Linked DNA regions of Homo sapiens: region 1 is linked to region 2. The links are contacts of gene promoters, found by promoter capture Hi-C in blood cells and fetal thymus (Javierre and others, 2016). All regions are on one chromosome and are shown on one strand. Each heading gives the region's core, a stretch centred on a gene start or on the middle of the fragment in contact. The rest is flanking DNA. Distances are from core to core; before and after follow the strand shown.

The links. Contacts are between HindIII fragments. The CHiCAGO score rates a contact against its expected background, and 5 or more counts as called.
Region 1: a contact is called between a fragment that was not itself captured here and the fragment with the promoter of EGOT in region 2, in 12 of 17 cell types (activated CD4 T cells, endothelial precursors, M2 macrophages and 9 more). The highest score is 15.4, in activated CD4 T cells.

The regions. Positions count from the first base shown.
Region 1 is chr3:4,900,329-4,904,349 of GRCh38, reverse strand. It overlaps BHLHE40-AS1 (BHLHE40 antisense RNA 1), which reads left to right. Exons shown (of 3, transcript NR_125916.1): 2 at 3,653-3,809. Among named protein-coding and RNA genes, the nearest start is that of BHLHE40, 77 kb to the left of the region's middle. The HindIII fragment of the contact is 3,580 bases long and covers 126-3,705 here.
Region 2 is chr3:4,749,458-4,753,445 of GRCh38, reverse strand. EGOT (eosinophil granule ontogeny transcript) reads left to right here and starts at 1,856. Exons shown (of 2, transcript NR_004428.1): 1 at 1,856-2,500; 2 at 3,436-3,988. All of the region lies in intron 44 of ITPR1 (inositol 1,4,5-trisphosphate receptor type 1), which reads right to left. RefSeq lists an enhancer at 3,734-3,803. The HindIII fragment of the contact is 1,839 bases long and covers 844-2,682 here.

The DNA.
Region 1 (4,021 bases), core at 666-3,165, 150 kb before region 2:
TGACCTGAGGATCTGAAGTTTGACTGGCCAAAATTTTTCTCCATCTCTCCTGTCTTCCCTCCATTTAATCAAATACACTGTAGAATGAAAAATAGGTTTTGTAGCTGTCTTGCTCTCCCAAAGCTTTCATCTGTAAAACAGAGATTATAATACTAATGCTTATCTCACAGAGTCATTTTGAGGAGGAAATAATAACATGTAAAGACTTTATTATACGCCCAGTAACTTAGTAAGTACTGGACAGTCAGCCCTCCATATCCCCAAGTCTGCATCCAAGGACTCAACCAACCTCGAGTAGAAAATATTCAAAAAAATACAGATAAAAAATACAAATAAAAAACAGTGCAATATAACCCTATTTACATTGTATTAGGTATTATAAGATTACTTATAATTTAGAGATGATTTAAAGTATACGGGAAGATGTACATAGGTTACATGCAAACACTATGCCATTTTATAAAAGAAACTTTAGCATCTTGGATTTTGGTATCCATGAGGGGGTCCTGGAACCAATCCCCATGGATGCTAAGAGATCACTAGAAATGTTAACTACTATTATCATAATGATCAGCAAATAAAAGAATGAAATGAAGGGCGTCAAAACCTCTTACTTGCAGAAGGTTAAAAGAATGCTTGCTAGCTGGTGGGTGTGGGGATGAATGCTTATAGTACCAGCTACTCAGGAGGCTAAGGTAGGAGGATTGCTTGAGCCCAGAAACTTGAGGCCAGCCTGGGCAACATAGTGAGAAAGTGTCTACTTTTTTTTCCAAAAGACTGGAAGGAAGAGAAGACTCTTCTGTAGACATACAAACCTTGCAGCAGAAATTCTATCGATACTATTATTTTTATCTACCTACCTATTACCTAGCTAATATCTGTATATCAATTATCTGTTATTATCTATTTTCTACCTGTTATTATTATTGTTTATTACCCTATTATCCAAGAATAAAGTTTTTATCCTGTAATTGTCCCATTTACCCATGGCCAATTGACAAGGACCAAAGACTTTATCACAGAGATAACAGAAGAAACACTGAAGTGGTAGCCAGCAACCACTTATGAAATTGCCAATATTTGATGTCATTTTAACTAAATAAGCAGCAATTTCATATGATTCAGCCTAATAGACCTTGAATCCAGATACATCCAGGCAAAGGATTCAAAACCAAATCAAACAGTCTATTTTCTACTGTTTCTTCTCACTTATTTCCAAAATGTGAAACAACCATATAGTAAAAAACAATAGAATAGGAAATAGTGATTCACCAGAGCTGTTGGAAGTTTAGAAAGTATTGATATAATTAATTCAATACAATTTCAGTTGGTTGCTTTTCCATTTTCAAAAGCCATTTTAGATGTAGGAAATGACATTTTCTAAATATAAAATATAAGTAAATATCACATTATTTTTTAAAAAAAATTATAGCTATTTCTAGCATGAAAGCCCATTCTCTCTCTCTCTCTCTCTCTCTCTCTCTCTCTCTCTCTCTCTCTCTCTGTTGTTAAGACAGGGTCTCACTCTGTCACCCAGGCTGGAGTGCAGTGGCCCGATCATAGCCCACTGCAGCCTTAATCACCTGGGCTCAAGAGATCCTCCCACCTCAGAGTTGCAGGTAGCTGGGACCACAAGCCTGTGCCACCACATCTGGCTATTTTTTCTTTTTTAATTTGTTGTAGAGACAGGATCTCACTATGTTGCTCAGCCTGGTCCTTTGTCTCTAAATGGGATACAGATATTTGAACAGTTTATCGTAGATCAGCTTTACTTTTACAGGACAAGGTTATTTTTAAATAAAATTCTCTACTGCCTTAGACTGTATATTCTTGTTATGTGTTAAATATCTCTATTTTTGAAGAGAATTTTAACAAGATAATTTTATACCTCCTTCTCGCTGTTTTCTGCTTCCTTAATTGGTCACCTAGCTAATGGAGCTTTCTATTTGAAACATTGCAGCTTCCCTGTCAAGGGGACGGAGTCAACATGCTGTAATTATAGCTGTCTTCGAGGGTTGGATTATTATTCTGTCTCTCTGACTTTCATATAAACAGAGCAGCTACCCATTGTAGTGTATGTGCACTGTTCACCCAAACAGAGTAAACTCAGCCTGCTAACGACATGACGTGCCCTCCAACACACAATTACATTTCACGGCAGTTCAGAGGTTTTCCAATGTAACATCTGTAATACAATTTTCCCTGCCAAAGTTTTACAAATCGCACATTCTGGCAAATGATCAGCGATACCGAATCAACACTATTATTCACAGCTGGATCTCCTCAGGAAAATAAGTTGGAATATTAAGCTGAAGTTTTCTGAAAAGCTCCCATGGTACCTTTGCTGAAGAGATGTTAAACCAAACAGCTCCTGATATGGAAACAGCGGTTTGAACTGTAACTCAGTTAGATAACTTAATAGGGGAAGGCTATGATGTCATGATGCAGGAAATGACTAAACTTTTTTTTTTTTTTGAGACCGAGTCTCGCTCTGTCACCAGGCTGGAGTGCAGTGGTGCCATCTTGGCTCACTGCAACCTCCAACTCCCTGGTTCAAGTGATTCTTCTGCCTCAATCTCCCGAGTAGCTGGGATTACAGGGACGCGCCACCACGCCCAGCTAATTTTTGTATTTTTAGTAGAGACAGGGTTTCACCATGTTGGCCAGGATGGTCTTGATTTCCTGACCTTGTGATCTGCCCGCCTCAGAAAGTGCTGGGATTATAGGCATGAGCCACCACGAAATGACTAAATATTGCTTTGCAGTATTCCTGGATTTAGGGAGGGGGTGTGAATGGCATTGTGTGGGCACTGATGGTAACCCAGGTCAGTGAGACTTTAAAGGGACCATTACTTTGTCCTTCTTTCTGGAGTTTCAGGCATTAAAAATGTTAACTTGTGGCTGGGCATGGTGGCTCATGCCTGTAATACCAGAACTTTGGGAGGCCAAGGCAGGAGGATCACTTGAGCCTGGGAGTTCAAGACAAAGCCTGGGCATCATGGTGAAACCCTGTCTCTACAAAAAATACAAAAATTATCCAGGAGTGGTGGCATGCACCCCTGTAGTCCCAGCTGAGAGGTGGGAAGATCCCTTGAGCCTAGAAGGTTGAGCTACGGTGAGCCATGTTGCTGCCACTGCACATCAGCCTGGGTGACAGAGCAAGACCCAGTCTCAAATAATAAAATAAAATAAAGTGTTAACTTGTCCAAGATCCTGTTTCACAGCAGTCATTGATGAGACAAATGAAACATTTTGGGACACCTTAAAAAAATCCCATCAGTGTGGCAGAGCTAGTTTTATTATCCCACTTCCTAAAAAGCCATGAGACCTCATCAGCCATGGAAGAATCTATGTAAAGCTGAAGGAATTTGGCCCTTTAATGATGCACAAAGACGTATGCATGGATTTTGCAAGTTCCTACTTTCACCTTTATAAATGCTGGGTTTCATCCATGTTTTAATTGACTGGAGTTTTAAACAAAATAAATACAGATACCATAGTGTGTAATTTTAGAGATTTTTTTAAGTACAAAAATGTATTTGGGCCCCAAAATGTATTTGGACTATGTGCTGCAATTGATCTTTCACCATATGAGAAATCCAGGCCCCAGCTGATTTTTTGGAGTTAAGAATGATTTTTTACATTTTTAAAGGGTTGCAGAAAAGGAAGAAGAATCAGCAGAGAGCATTTGTGGCCAGCAAAGCTTAAAATATTTCCTAACCGATCCTTTGCAAAAAAAGTTCACCCACTCCTGTAGTCAGCAGCTCCCCTACTGTGCGCAGTCAGTGTGCCATCTCAGACTAGCAAAGGTGAGTAAAACCATCCCTGCCCCTAATCAATTTACAATCTGCATCCTCAGGGCAAGAGCCTAGTAAGCAAAAGGCAAAATAAGATGGCGCCAGATAAGGGCTTCAAAGGAAGAGAGACCAGGTTTGGTGGGGAAATAGGGGGTGGCTTCTTAGCAGGTTTTCTTTAGATGAACCTTGAAGATAAAAAGAGATTTTGATGAATAAGGGTGGGT
Region 2 (3,988 bases), core at 607-3,106:
ACAGATGGCCAAGCGGTTAGAGCAGGGCAGGGTGAAATCACACAGCACTCATCTGGGTAAAGCTGCTTTGTATATTAGGGCTTTGGCGGCGGCAGCGCATATCCAAGCAGGGGACAGGCCCAAGCCAACTTGGTGCCCTTTAGAAGCACCGACTAGGGATCGGCGGGAACCACAGAGATCACCTCATCCAGCCCCGACTTGATGACAAGCCCATCACCCTGGTGGAGCAGATACTTTCCGCAGCTCTGCCCCTGACCGACCACCATGGGGTAGACCGCGTTAGCTTCCTTCACTCAGCTCCTCCAACATCCCAAGCACAAGCCAACCCTCTTCTGAAATACTCTTGCCCTCTGCTACTCTTCACACAGCTCCTTCTCTTCGCATCTGTTGGGTCTCAGCTTGAACGGTATCTCCCCAGAGAAGCCCTCCCTGGCCACGCTTCGTGGCGCCTGTTTGCTTCCCCATCACACTTCTCTGAAGCTCTGATTTAGCTGATGATGAGCTGATTTCCTAGCTCTGTCTCCCACAAGACTGTAAGCTCCTGGAGGGCAGGGGCTATGTTGGTCTCATCCCTGACTGTATTGACGCCAATGTGTATAGCACCTGACACCCAGGGAGTGCTCAGTAAGTAAACATCTGCTATATTAAGCCGGCTGTGGTGACACAAGCCAGTAGTTCTAGCTACTCCGGAGGCTGAGACAGAAAGATCTCTTCAGCCCAGGAGTTCAAGGCCAGCTTGGTCAACACAGTAAGGCCTCTTCTCTCTTTTTAAAAAATTTACTATATTAATGAATGAACAATAATCCTGAAGGAGGTGCAATTCCGAAACACTCAAGCCAAGCTTTGCATCCATGGCAGCTGAAGTATAACTTTATGGCCAGAAGAAGCCTGCATGTGAAAGCTCAAAGTCCTGCTAAGTGGGAATATGCAGCACACCGCAGACCAGCCAAAGGCAGCTGATGTGGTGTTGTCACCTCTACGGGCTTATCCGGTTTTTGCACGTAACTCTGTGATGGGCTCAGCCTGGCTGAGGATCCTTAATCCATCGAGTTAACTGTTAACTACCCCGGCCCCAGTGACACAGCAGCTTGCATGATTAACTACAGCCCGGGAGGGATGATCATTTGTGCACCTTCCGTCTCCAAACCTGGCTCCCTCCCCAGACTTGATAGCTACAAGCTCTGGGCTCAACAGTTTGTGGGTTTGTGTTGCAAGGAGGCTAATAAAAACATATTTCTCAAATACCATATGGTGAGGGCAACTGCAACACATCCTCCTCGAAGAGCAATAAAATATATATATTTTTAAAGTCCTGAATTCCAGGGGAAAAACGAGGCTTGAAGACTTCAGAGGGTTTACAGGACTATCCCCTTCAGTGTCAGAGCCATCTTGATCAAAAGTCTAAAACCCAGGAATAGGAAATTGGTAGAAACTTTGAGAGAGCCTCTGACAGTTTCAAAGAGGAACTCAGAGGACCTCAGGAAATGTGAGCGGGCATAGATTTCTCCGTGAAAAGGAGGGTCAAGGCAGAAGAACCAGAGGCAACTGTGAACATCAAGTCAGTTCTCAGGGAAGCAGGGGATCCAAGTGTGTACATGAGGCGCCTTCACTGTCCCTGCATCAGGAATCTAGCTGTTGGCACCTTATAATGAGAAAACAGTCTCAACCATGAAGTTAACTCTGCTGGAAGATTTCCAAAGGGAAAGTCCCTCCCGTTACTCAGAGGGGAAAAAAAAATTACCTACTTGGTCTGGAATCCGGGGATATTTTATGCAGATGTCTCTAACAGAAGTTAATAAAGGGAAGTCAGCTTGCCTCTGATTATTCAAACAGGCTACTGCTATTAAGGATTGCACAACTTCTGGGCAAGGCAGAGGTGGGTTTGGCTTTTTAAAAATTTTTTCAGCCTGTCCTCATGGAACTACATATTCTTTTCTAAGAACTTTTCATCCTAACCTCCCTACTCACATCTTCTAAGTGTCTCTGCTCTGGTGGGAATGTGATGGACAACACAGAGCCATCTCAGAAGCCTCTGTGGCCACCACCAGGCCGGCCAGGGTGCAGGGGGCCACTCCCTGGGCAGCCATAGGGTTCTCAGCAAGGTGCATTCGTCGTCCCTGCTGAGAATCTGATGGGGCAGCATTTTTTTTTTTAATTAAATGCAAGCTGAGTCATTTCAACCTGCAACCTTCAGGTAACAGGAGTTACCCAAGCTCCAGGAATTATGATTGTGGGGTAAACCCATTCTCTTGTTTTCTTGCGGTTCTATTTTATAACGCACTAGAGGAGACAGAGACGTCATTGCTTCACCCAGGGCAAGAGGACAAAGGAGGATGCATGGAAATACAAACAGCCCTTCTCCTCCAGGCCATACCGACTGTCCAACTAGCAACAGACTTCACCTGGTTTTGGAGCAATCTGAATTTGGAATATGCCAGAGAAAACTTCTATCAGGCAAGATGGAAGACTCCTAGGATAGGTCTCTCTCATGGAGGGATTGGTAATAAAAAAATCATGGGAAAAGAAATAAGGGAGGGTGGAAAAAACACACCTTAGAAAACAACTTCTGATGTCCCGGGGCTACACAATGGGGGAGCTGAGCACTTAGGAAGGAGAGGGAAAATATTCTGTTTCCGGAGACAGCTCCAAGAATCATGAGTAGGTGTGAGAAACAAGGAAGCTTACAGATTTAAAAAAAAAAAGAAAGAAAGAAAGGAAGGGGGCAAAAGGAAGGAGTCAGGGAAGGGGGGAGTGAGATCTTTGAGAGACAGGGGAATTAAAAAACACCATAGCAACAACGCAGTCCACCTACCCTGGCCGCCCACCCACAGCCAGATTCTTTACTGACGCATTTGAGAACAAGCTGGTTCCTACCAGCTCAGGAAGGTGAGCAAACCCAGAGAGCTCATTAAATCCCTTCTCAGCGACTCTTGTCTGCCTGCAGATAGTGAGCAAGGAGGATATAAATAGAAGTTATATAACATCTCTTTGTTGATTCCTGTGCTTACCAAAAAAAAATGCAGCATGACCTTGTTTTTCTTTAGAGTTTGCCTCGGCCTGCTGGTTGAGGACTTTAATCCAGATAGGAATCATCTTGAAGTTTAAACAGCAGGATATAGATTTCCAAGTTAAGGGTGCTCTGCATGGCCATCCAAGTTAGGAACCCACAGGGTCAAGTCCTCCTCCGCGGATTAAAAAAAAAAAAATCCACCAGCTCTAAAACAACAACAGCAGGTATGGAATCTTGTGGCTTCCTCTTAGAACATCTCCTGAGGTAAATTAAGGAGTAAATTTGATACCCAAGAGCAAAGCATCATTAAAATGGCATCTTGGGTTTTCTAAAGGAGGTTCGAGCACCACAGGTATATTCAAAGGTAACTGGTGGTTTCCACATACCCTCCAGGCCTAAGCAGTTGTCTTTTTGTTCCTTAACAGGCACGATGGTAAGAGTCCAGTGGATGGAAAAGGCCTCCTCCTTAAAGATGGTGATGGAAACGAGCACTGCACAGGGAAACACAAATCAGGTCCCCTGAAATCCAGCCCAACCTGGCCAGACCCTCCAGTGCCCATCAGGGCTTATGAACAGGGTGCTTCAGTGTCTTTGTTAGGGGTGGTTAAAAAGGAGCACGTGCTTATAGGGGATGCTGCTGAGCTCCATGATTTTGACTTCCTGTCTAACCTGTTGATGCTACAAAACTCTTTTAAAAACAGTTACCATGGGAACTTTTCCCTAGCAAGCATTCTTCAAGAAACGTTACAGGTGCTGGTGAATTCAATGCCCTTGGTGTCAATAAGCTTTTGCTGAGTCTTAGAATGTGTGGCTTGAACTGAGAGGACTTTCAAACAGATAATGCGAAGTTTCCAATGCAAATGTCTTCGGGGTTAAGTGTCAGTGAAGTGCAGTGGAAGGTAGGGGGATAAAATGATCTCAGTGTATATGGAGGCCCCACTTAAGCATTCAAAAAATTCTATATACAGTGTTTTCAAT